2 separate regions of the Homo sapiens genome follow, and region 2 is linked to region 1. The links are contacts of gene promoters, found by promoter capture Hi-C in human tissues and cell types (Jung and others, 2019). All regions are on one chromosome and are shown on one strand. The core of a region is centred on a gene start or on the middle of the fragment in contact, and the rest is flanking DNA. Distances in the headings are between cores, read along the strand shown.

The links. Contacts are between HindIII fragments. The study calls those that stand out against the background at their distance.
Region 2: the fragment with the promoter of SYCE2 here is called in contact with the fragment with the promoter of ZNF441 in region 1 in 1 of the 25 tissues and cell types used here (stomach).

The regions. Positions count from the first base shown.
Region 1 is chr19:11,763,730-11,769,763 of GRCh38, reverse strand. It overlaps ZNF441 (zinc finger protein 441), which reads right to left and starts at 2,764. Exons shown (of 4, transcript NM_152355.3): 1 at 2,568-2,764. The coding sequence starts at 2,570. RefSeq lists silencers at 1,734-1,843, 2,294-2,433 and an enhancer at 2,504-2,603. The HindIII fragment of the contact is 15,674 bases long and covers 1-6,034 here.
Region 2 is chr19:12,917,633-12,923,157 of GRCh38, reverse strand. SYCE2 (synaptonemal complex central element protein 2) reads left to right here and starts at 3,865. Exons shown (of 6, transcript NM_001105578.2): 1 at 3,865-3,915; 2 at 4,821-4,936. The coding sequence starts at 3,901. It overlaps MIR5695 (microRNA 5695), which reads right to left and starts at 2,838; the gene lies at 2,754-2,838. It overlaps FARSA (phenylalanyl-tRNA synthetase subunit alpha), which reads left to right. Exons shown (of 13, transcript NM_004461.3): 13 at 272-679. The coding sequence ends at 410. RefSeq lists an enhancer at 4,046-4,185. The HindIII fragment of the contact is 14,742 bases long and covers 1-5,525 here.

The sequences.
Region 1 (6,034 bases), core at 1,515-4,014:
GCGGAGGTTGCAGTGAGCTGAGATCATGCCACTGTTCTCCAGCCTGGGCAACAGAGCAAGACTCCATCTCAAAAATAAAAAATAAAAAAAAAAAGAGTCCTTTAGTAGACAACTGACCTGCTGCTTGAAACTGAATTCTCAGCCTTTATAGCTTTGAGAAATGAATATCTGTTGTGTAAGGCATGCAGTCTATGGTAAATTTGTTATAGCAACCCAAAGGACTAAGTTAGGAAGGGTCTTTCTCTACCACACATCAAGGCTTTGAAGACTATAGTAATCAGGAGAGTATGATATTAGCAGACTGATGGATACATAAACCAATGAAAAATGGCAAATTCTGGAACAAGAGCATCTACTTAAGGTACAAGAACCTATGACACAGCAGGTATTGCCAGGCAGTGATACAAATGAGGGACACTTCAACAGAAATGATGGAGACAAATGGTTACCTACAGGAGAATAATCCATCTTCTGCCCAGCATCTCCATATACAATGATCAACTAACTATAGACTTTCCAGTTTTCATTAATTTTTACTCAGTTTGTTACCTCAGCTTCCATTTTGAGTGTGGTTTCGTTTTTCCATACCAAAAAAGGGGTTTTATGACCCTTGACACAGTTTCTAGTTCTCTATCTTCTCCCAGTTCTTCAATTTGGTTGATCCATATGCATCCCTTATACCATCATCTCCTTTCACCACCTCCCTATGGGTGCAGAGTGTGTCAAGTCAGGTCCTCCTATCACCTGGAACATCCCCCATCACCATGCTGCTCACCGAAGTGCTCAATAACCATGATCCCAGGAGACACTACATTGTTAGCTTTTCAGGTTCTTGCACCACCTCAGTGGAGTTGGTTTTCCTGTCCTTAGGGATAGTTTTCTCCCTTCATTAGTCTGAGAACATCAGAAGGGAAGAATCATTTCAGTCCTGTCCCCTTAATACCACCATCCAATTGGCTGACCAGCCATATATCCCCAAGGAAGGGATGGGGGAAGAAAAGCTGAGTGTTCTAAGGAAGTAGCTTATTGAGGAAGGGTATACCAGGAGACTCCTCCCACTACAGGGCATCATGCTGCTTCCCTACAAGGTCCCACCATCTCCACCTCAGGGTGTCCTCTGGGAGGAGTGACAAAGGGACTGATATTCACTTGACACTACAAGAGACTTGGCAGCTGTGGGCATCTTGGGGTGGCCCCAGGCAGCTCTGAAACCCAGGACCAGGAAACCATAGAGGATGGGCTGGGGACTCATCACTCTGTAACGTTTCCAAAGAGGAAACTTAATCCAAAGACATTCTCAAAAGGTGTCTCTGTCTAGGGATGATGAAGGGAGGACAGTAACAAAGATTTTATTTATTAATATTCATTTTTTTTACAGCGAAATGTCTGGTGGTTTTTCTCTGCTTCCTCTCATGTGAAATGTTCACAAACACAAAACCTTTTACAAAGAGCCATATATTGCTATGTATAAACAAAATGACAATTAAAATACTAGCCTCTGTTTGAAAAATAAACTGGGGGACAAGGAGTTCATAAAGTTGCTGTGAATTGAGGAGAGAAAGCCTGAGGAAGGCTCTGGAAGCCAAGGGATTTTCTGTCGGCCCTAGGAGGAGTTAGGATGAGAGAACACAGTGGTGGACTTGAGACCCTGCTGCCCACATCTTTGGAAGACTCGAAGGCGAACGGGTCACCCTTGGGAAGAAAGAAGGGACAGGGGACCACACAGACCACAACTCCTCCCACACACAAACCCCACACACGAGTCTGCCTGGTGACCTGTCATCACCGTGCAGCCTCCTCACCGGGTTCACAGAACTGCGAGCCAGGCTGGAGGCGAGATTGCAGTTAGATATTAACCAGGTGCCCTCAGCCCCGCTGCCTCGCGGGGCCGCCTCCCCAAGAGTCAGGCCACAGCAGATGCTGACCGCCGGCTTCGCCATTGTGCTTGGGGATGAGATCTCTGAGAGTTGCTCAAGAGTCGCCTGAGTTCTTTCTCAGATCCTGAATTCCAGCGGAAAGGCTGGCGCCAACCAGGCTGAAGACCCCACAAGGGAACCCACTCAGCAGAAGAATGCGGTTTCTTCACCTCCAGTCCCAAGAGTCACCCCTCACTTCCCCACCATCCAGCGACCCCACGCCCCAGCCGCCCCTGTCCACACCCCTAAACACCCCATCCCCAAACCTCTCAGGAAGGCGGATCTGGGGTGTCCTCCCCTCTCCCCCTATTAAACTGTTTCTGCTGCAGCCCTCGGCGTCTCGGTGCAGTGACTCGGGCCGCGAACCTGTGCCGGTTACAGCCGCACAATCTGGGGAGACGCAGGACTGCGGGCGCGGAGCTGCCCAGACAGGCCTCCAGGGCCAGGGCCGCAGTGGCCGCGCAGGGACGGGACAGGACGCCCGGGGTCCCGGCTGCCGCCCCAGCCCCATCGTGCGGCCGAGGGAACCGAGGGCCGAGCTGCGCCAGGGTGTCGCCGGCGGGGAAGACCTGGTGCCACCACAGCCGGTTCCGGCCGGTTCCAACCAGTCTCTCCTCTCACGCGTCGGGACACCAGACCTCACACACTCACCATTTCCCGGCTTCCGGCGTCCAGGTTCCTCCCTCTGCCTCCCGCTGTCAGTGCGGGTCCCAGCGAGACAGAAGCTGCCACAGACGTTCCAGGGCGTCTCTCAGTGACAGAACCCGGAGCCCAGTGCAGGGGCGTGGAGAAGACTCGGCGGGCTCTTTGAACCTTGCACCCTCCTCCGGTCAGTGCGCCTGATTGACAGTTCTCACGACCCCGCCCCGCGGCCCTGATTGGATAGTGCGCCAGGTCCCTCCCCCGGGCACTGAGTAACGGAAGAAGCGATCTCGGGCAGCGGAGTGGAACCTGATAAACAGATTCCAGACAGGCCTTGAGAGGACTAGCTTCCTCCCTGCGCTGTGACCTGACCCCCTCCCAGGGGACATTTGCATTTAGGCAGTATGTCCTGACCTTCCTCCTTTTTCCTCTTGGACAGGGACCCACAAGTCTGTGCAGGAAATTCCAGACTCACTGTCCAGTGGAGCTATCCCCTGATTTGAGAGCAGGAAGGGAGCCCAGGCCACACTGCAGCAGAAGGGAGGGGCTGATGTCCTCCAGGAATCAGGAGTTTTGGATGAGGCTGTTGGCTGCACAGGCCAAGCCTTTCTCCCACCTTATGTCTCAATCTACTAATTTTCAGTGCAGAATATAAAAACACCCCAACAAAGCCGGGCGTGGTGGCTCACACCTGTAATCCCAGCACTTTGGGAGGCTGAGGCAGGTGGATCACCTGAGGTCAGAAATTCGAGACCAGTCTGGCCAACATGGTGAAATCCCGTCTCTAAAATACAAAGATTAGCCGGATGTGGTGGCGCACGCCTGTAGTCCCAGCTACTCAGGAGGCTGAGACAGAGGAATCACTTGAACCTGGAAGGCAGAGGCTGCAGTGAGAGAGTGGGCGAGACAGAGGGAGACTCCGTCTCAAAAAAAAAAAAAAAGAAAAAAGAAAAAAGAAATAAATAAAATTGTTAAATGTGTGGAAAAACTGGAATTATATGGCGGCAATATTTTATAAAGCAAAAACTTGAACTAGCTCAGATAAGCAGCCTGCTGCATCCACACACAGTTCACAAGTCAACCACTTTCAGGAGGCCAAACATATTCCAAAGCTTGGAGGCCAGACGATAATTCCTGAAATGGAGCCCTAGGGTGGATCAGAACCTGGGGATGAGTCAGGGGCACTAATGGATTTAACTCTGGGAGTTCAATTTGCCCTCCTGTCTCCTAAACACAGCGTGGAAATGCTCCTTCCATCAAGCCTATAAATGTTATTGAATTAAATGCTTCAATCAAAGGCTGAGACATTAGACTTTGAATTTGAAAACATTCATCTTCATATTTTTATGAAGAATACCAGATATAAAAGCATTATGAGGCCAGGCACCGTGGCTCATGCCTGCAATCCCACCACTTTGGGAGGCTGAGGTGGGTGGATTGCTTGAGCTCAGGAGCTCAAGACCGGCCTGGGCAATGTGGTGAAACCCCCATCTCTATTTAAAAACAAACAAAAAAAAAGCGTTATTAACTGGGAGCTGGCACCCATGGTGATACGAAGAAAAAGAGGTTTAATTGACTCACAGTTCAGCATGGCTGGGGAGGCCTCACAATCATGGTGGAAGGCAAAGGAGGAGCAAAAGCAAATGTTACATGGCGGCAGGCAAGAGAGCGTGTGCAGGGGAACTGCCCTTTATAAAGCCATCGGATCTCATGAGACTTACTCACCCAAATCTCATTTTGAATTGCAGCTCCCATAATCCCCACATGTCATGGGAGTGATCCAGTGGGAGGTAATTGAATCATGGAGGCGGTTTTCCCATGCTGTTCTCGTGATAGTGAATAAGTCTCATGAAATCTGATGGCTTTATAAAGGGCAGTTTCCCTGTACATGCTCTCTTGCCTGCCGCCATGTAACATTTGCCTTTGCTCCTCCTTAGCCTTCCACCAACACCTGACCAAATGGATATGACATCTACAGAACTTTCCACCCAAAACCAACAGATTATACATTCTTCTCCTCACCACATGGCACATACTCTAAAATCAGTAACATAATCAGACATAAAATAACCCTCAGCAAATTAAAAAAACAAGCAAACAAAATCATACCAACTGCACTCTCAGACCACAGTGCAATAAAAATAGAAATCAAGACTAAGAAAATCTCCCCAAACCATACAATTATATCAAAATTAAATGACCTGGTTCAGAATGACTTCTGAGTAAATAATGAAATTAACACCAAAATCAAGAAATTCTTGGAAACTGAGAAGAAAGATACAACATACCAGAATCTCTGGGGCACAGCTAAAGAAGTGTTAAGATGGAAATTTATAGCACTAACTGCCCAAATCAAAAAGAAAGATCTGAAATTAATAACCCAATATCACAACTAGAAGAACTAGAGAAGCAAGAGCAAACCAATCCCAAAGCTAGCAGAAGACAAGAAATGACCAAAATCAGAGCTAAAATGACCAAAATCAGAGCTAAACTGAAGGAAATTGAGATACAAAAAAAAAAAAAAACATACAAAAGATTAGCAAATGCAAGACTTAGTTCTTGGAAAAAAATAACTTAAAAAGTCCCAAATAGTCAAGGCAATCCTAAGCAAAAAGAACAAAGCTGGAGGCATCATGCTACCAGACTTCAAACTATATACTACAGGGCTACAGTAAGGTATTTTTACAAAAACTGACACATTACCAATGGAACAGAATAGAGAGCCTAGAAATAATGCTGCTCACCTTCAACCATCTGATCTTTCACAAAGCTGACAAAAACAAGCAGTGGGGAAGGACTCATCAATGGTGCTGGGATAACTGGCTAGCCATATGCAAAAGATTGAAACTGAACCCCTTTCTTAAACCATATACAAAAATCAACTCAAGATGGATTAAAGACACTTTTCAAAAGAAGACATGCATGTAATCAACAAGCAAATGAAAAAAAAAATGCCCAATATCACTAATCATTAGAGAAATGCACATCAAAACCACAATGAGATACCATTTCACACCAGTTAGAATGGCCATTAATAAAAAGTCAAAAAATAACAGATGCTGGGAAGGTTGTGGAGAAAAGGGAATGCTTATACTCTGCTGGTGGGAGTTTAAGTTAGTTCAACCATTATGGAAAGCAGCGTGGTGATTCCTCAAAGCACTAAAAACTGAATTACCGTTTGACCCAGCAATCCAATACCCATTTACTGGGGTATTGGATCCACATACCCAAAGGAATATGGATCATTCTACCATAAAGACACATGCACACCTATGTTCATTGCAGCACTACTCACAATAGCAAATATATGAAATCAACCTAAATGCCTGTTAACAGTAGACTGAATAAAGCACATTTGGCACATATACACCAAGAAATACTATGCAGCCATAAAAAAGAACAAGATCATGCCTTTGCAGAAACATGGATGGAGATGGAGGCTATTATCCTTAACAAACTAACACAGGAACAGAAAA
Region 2 (5,525 bases), core at 2,616-5,115, 1.2 Mb before region 1:
TGAGAGTATCTGGGGAAGGGTGTCCCAGGTAGTGGTCACAGTCAGTTCAAAGGCCCAGAGGTGGGAATGTGCTTTTTGTATTAGGAGAAGAGTGAGGAGGCTGGTGTGGCTGAAGGCGGAGGGTGAGAGGTGATAGAGCAGTTGGCGCAGGGCCCTGTGGGTCATGGGGAGAACTTGAACTTTTCCTCTGAAGAAGATGGGAGCCATGGAAATCTGAGCAGAAGGGTGCACGTGCTGACCTCATGATAAACTCTGTTCCCTCCCCCACAAGCCCAACGATGATCAAATATGGCATCAACAATATCCGGGAGCTGGTGGGCCACAAGGTGAACCTGCAGATGGTGTATGACAGTCCCCTGTGCCGCCTGGATGCCGAGCCGAGGCCCCCTCCCACACAGGAGGCTGCGTGACATGGGCCACTCTAGGACAGGTCATCCTCCCCGAGTCCCTGCTGCTGCGCTCCTTTGCATCCCTGGCCAGTGACCTTGTATTTATGAGGCCTCTGTGAGGCCAGCCCCCACCTTCCTCTTTCCCACCTGTCCCAGGACCAGAATCCCAGGGACAGAGGACTGGGTAGCAGGTTCCTTCTGTTGTCCTGTGTGGTGTGTCTACTGTGAGGGTGGGCCCTGAGGAGACCTGTGGGCCACCTATTGTCTAATAAAGTGGGCAGTTGCCCCCATCTGGTGGCTTTCCTTAGGGGTGAGGGGTCTTGTTGGGTCCCCCTAGCTCAGTGTGCCACTTGATGGTCAAAATTCTGGGTACTGGGCTGGGCGAGGTGGCCCGCGTCTGTAATCGCAGCACTTTGGGAGGCTGAGGCGGGCGGGTCACGAGGCCAGGCGATCGAGACCATCCTGGCTAACAGGGTGAAACCCCGTCTCTACTAAAAATACAAAAAAAAAAAAAAAAAGTATGGGTACTGAGCCAGGCACAGTGGCTCACTTCTGTAATCCCAGAACTTTTGGGAGGCCAAGGTGGGTGGGTCACTTGAGGTCAGGAATTCAGGAGCAGCCTGGCCAACGTGGTGAAACCCCATCTCTACTAAAAATAAAAAAATTAGGGCTGGGTGCGGTGGCTCATGCCTGTAATCCCAGCACTTTGGGAGGCTGAGGCGTGTGGATCATGAGGTCAAGAGATTGAGACCATCCTGGCCAACATGGTGAAACCCTGTCTACTAAAAATACAAAAAATTAGCCGGGCGTGGTGGCGGGTGCCTGTAGTCCCAGCTACTCAGGAGGCTGAGGCAGGAGAATGGTGTGAACCTGGGAGGCGGAGCTTGCAGTGAGCGGAGATCGCACCACTGCACTCCAGCCTGGGCAATAGAGCAAGACTCCGTCTCAAAAAAAAAAAAAAAAAAATTAGGCTGGGCGTGGTGGCTCACGCCTGTAATTCCAACACTTTGGGAAGCTGAGGCAGGCAGATCACTTGAGGTCAGGAGTTCGAGAGCAGCCTGGCCAACGTGGTGAAAACCCGTCTCTACTAAAAATACAAAAAAAAAGCTGGGCGTGGTGGTGAGCACCTGTAGTCCCAGCTACCCGGGAGGCTGAGGCACGAGAATCGTTTGAACCAGGAGGTGGAGGTTGCAGTGAGCCAAGATTGTGCCACTGCACTACAGCCTGGGTGACAGAAGAAGACTCTGTTCCAAAAAAAAAAACAAAAAACAAAAATTAGCAGGCATGATGGCAGGCACCTGTAGTCCCAGCTATCTGGGAGGCTGAGGTGGGAGAATCACTTGAACCCAGGAGGTGGAGGTTGTAGGGAGCTGAGATCACACCACTGCACTCCAGTCTGGGCCACAGAGTGAGACCTGTCCCCCAAAAACAGAAAACAAAAATTAGCTCAGCATAGTGGCTCATGCCTGTAATCCCAGGTACTCCAGAGACTGAGGTTGATCACTTGAGCCTGGGAGGTCGAGGCTGCAATGAGCCGTGATTACACCACTGCACTCCAGCCTGGGCAACAGAGTGAGACCCTGTCGTTAAATACATATTTATGTGTCTAAATAAACACAAGTACCCTGGAATCTTGCCATTTCCATCAAATCTGAACTTTGGCTGTGTAGGGGTGAAGAGAAAGCTTCCTTATTGCCCTCTGAAGTTTCACTAAAAATTACTGAGAAAAGGCAGATTAATAAGAGAAAAGGAATACGAATGTATTTGATCATAGTGTTACCTGACAAGCCTTCAGAATGAAGATCCAGAGATACAGGGGAAACTGTGTTTTTGTTTTGTTTTGTTTTGAGACGGAGTCTGGCTCTGTTCCCTGGGCTGGAGTGTAGGGGCGATCTTGGCTCACAGCAGCCTCAGCTTCCCAAGCAGCTGGGATTACAGGTGCCCGCCACCATGCCTGATTAATGAAAAGTGTCTTATGCTTAGGTTCAGCAAAGTTTGAACACCCAGGTAGAAATTTGATTGGACAAAAAGGGTTTGTCGTGGTTCATACTTGTAATCCTGACACTTTGGGAGGCTGAGGCGGGTGGATCACTTGAGGCCAGGAGTTTGAGACCAGCCTGAGCAACATGGAAAAACCCCATCTCTACTAAAAATACAAAAATTAGCTGGGCATGGTGCATCTGTAATCCCAGCTACTTGGTTGGCTGAGAATCGCTTGAACCTGGGAGGCCAAGGTTGCAGCGAGTTGAGATCTTGCCACTGCACTCCAGTGTTGCCTGGACAACAGAGCAAGACAAAAAAAAAAAAAAAAAAAAAAAGCCGGGGGGGTCGTCTAATACTAATAGGCTGAGTGGGGAAACCCAGCAAGGCCTATCTGTCTAGATTCTTCTTGGAGTCTCAGGAATGCATGCTCAGAGAGGCCAAGAAGAATCTAGATAGATAGGCCTTGTGTGGGGCAGAAACTTCTTTGAAACGGGGGTCTTATGACCTACAGTCAATAGGGTAGATCAGATAATTTCTTCTTTTTTTGAGACAGCACTTTGGGAGACCAAGACGGGAGGACGGCTTGAGCCCAGGAGTTGGGGATCAGCCTGGGCTCAGCACAGTGAGATCTCATTTCTACAGGAAAAAAAAATATAATTATGTGTGTGTGTGTGTGTGTGTGTGTGTGTATATATACATACAATCTTTTTTTTTTTTTTGAGACGGAGCTTTACTCTGTCACCCCGGCTGGAGTGCAGTGGCATGATCTCAGCTCACTGCAACCTCTGCGTCCTGGGTTTAAGCAATTCTCCTGCCCCAGCCTCCCGAGTAGCTGGGACTATAGGCGCCCGCCACCACGCCCGGCTATTTTTTGTATTTTTAGTAGAGACAGTTTCACCATGTTGGCTAGGCTGGTCTCGAACTCATGACCTCAGGTGATCCACCCGCCTCGGCCTCCCAAAGTGCTGGGATTACAGGCGTGAGCCACCGCGCCCGGCCAGAAAAATATTTTTAAATTAGAAGGGCCTGGTGAATGACACTGCTACTCAGGAGGCCGAGGCAGGAGGATCGCTTGAACCTGGGAGGTCGAGGCTACAGTGAGCTGTGATCGCACCACTGCACTCCAGCCTGGGCGACAGACCAAGATCTTGTCTCAAAAAAAAAAAAAAATTGTTATGGAGTATATTTTCCAAGGCAGAGTGGATGAAGTTAGAAGCACCGAATAAATACAGGACTCTGAGATCCGTATAACCTGGGCGCCCCGTGGAACCCAGGAGCCTCACAGGGGCACACAAGCGCACCCAGAGCGCGCCGTCCTGCTCCCAAGGGGCGCCGACTGCGCGCGCAGCCCGCGGACCGCGAAACTGCTGCTTAACGGTCGGCCCCGCCCAGTTGGCCGCGCAAGTTCTCAAAGAGGGCGGGGCCGGGAGCACGCGTCACAACACACTCGTCCGCGGGAGCGCAGCTGGCCAGGGGCGGGGTCGGCGCATGCGCAGAGGGTGCGAGCTTGAAGGCGGGAAAATACGGAATGGAGCGACAGGGAGTACGCGGCGCTTGTTTCCTTCTCGCGCGTGGGGCGGGCGGACAGATAGGCAGGGAACGGCTGCGATCCCAGCCATCTCCAGCGGACCCGAGCCCGGCCGCTTGTCCTTTGCCATTGGGGCTCCCTCTCATCAGGCCTGGCCTCAAATTTCCTGACTGACTGAACCCGGCCCTGACTGACGCACTGACGGGTCTGATTTCCACACATGGCGCGTGGCCGGAACGGAGTAGAGAAAGGCACAAACACCCACGCACCGCACCCGTTTCTTTCATTTCTTTTTTTTTTTTTTTTTGAGACGAAGTATCACTCTGTCGCCCAGTCTGGAGTGCAGTGGCGTGATCTCGGCTCACTGCAACCTCTGCCTCCCGGGTTCAAGTGATTCTCCTTCCTCAGCCTCCCGAGTAGCTGGGATTACAGGCACGCACCACCACGTCAGCTAATTTTTGTATTTTTAGTAGAGACGGGGTTTCACCATATTGCTCAGGCTGTTCTCGCACTCCTGACCTCGTGATCCGCCCGCCTCCGCCTCCCAAAGTGCTGGGATTACAGGCGTGAGCCACCGCGCCCGGCCTCATCTCTTTTCTCCTACCTCTTCTCCTTTCTCGAAGGACTCCAGCCAACACACATACCAGTTAGGAGCCCAGGTCCTCCAGTTACATTCCCACAGCCCTGCCCTCACCCGGCCCCTCTAGGTCTGGTGTCCTGGTGTCCCCTAGGGACAGAGTGTCCTTTCACCCCATGCCCCTGCCCTCATGGCACCTGCCCCAGCCCTGCCCGTCTTTCCTGCGGGTCCCCACCGTCCCGCAGCAGCACATCGAGGTGACCAGGGTTGAAGGGTCGGCAGGAGGGCGATCTGTTCACTCCTCATCCTCCCTCCTTGGCCTCCGTCCTGACTGTGCTTGCAGGTGGACGTGCCCCATGTGAAATGCAAAGACCAGGAACCGCAGCCCTTGGGGGAGAGCAAGGAGCATCCGCGGTGGGAAGAGAACTGCGAGGAGGAAGCTGGTGGAGGGCCAGCTAGGTGAGGAAGATCCCAGCCCTATGGGTCTACACAGGCCCCTGGGTCCCTCTCATTCACCCTTTTCTTCCACAAGGCTATGCCAGTGTCTGCTGCTTTTTTTTTCCCTCCTAACACAGCGTCTTGCTTTGTCACCACGCAGTGGCATGATCACGGCTCACTGCAACCTCCACCTCCCAGACTCAAGTGATCCTCCCACCTCAGCCTCCGAAATGGCTGGGACTAGAGGCGGGCCAGAATGTCGGGCCAATTTATTAAAAAATATTGGCCAGGTGCAGTGGTTCACACCTGTAATCCCAACACTTTGGGAGGCCAAGGCGGGTGGATCACCTAAGGTCGGGAGTTTGAGACCAGCCTGACAAACATGGAGAAACCCCGTCTCTACTAAAAATACAAAATTAGCTGGGCATAGTGGCACATGCCTGTAATCCCAGCTACTCAGGAGGCTGAGGCAGGAGAATCGCTTGAACCCAGGAGGTGGAGGTTGCAGTGAGCTGAGATGGCGCCATTGCACTCCAGCCTGGGCAAAAAGACCGAAACGCTGTCTCAAAAAAAAAAAAAAAAAGCCAGGAATGGTGGCTTATGCCTGTAA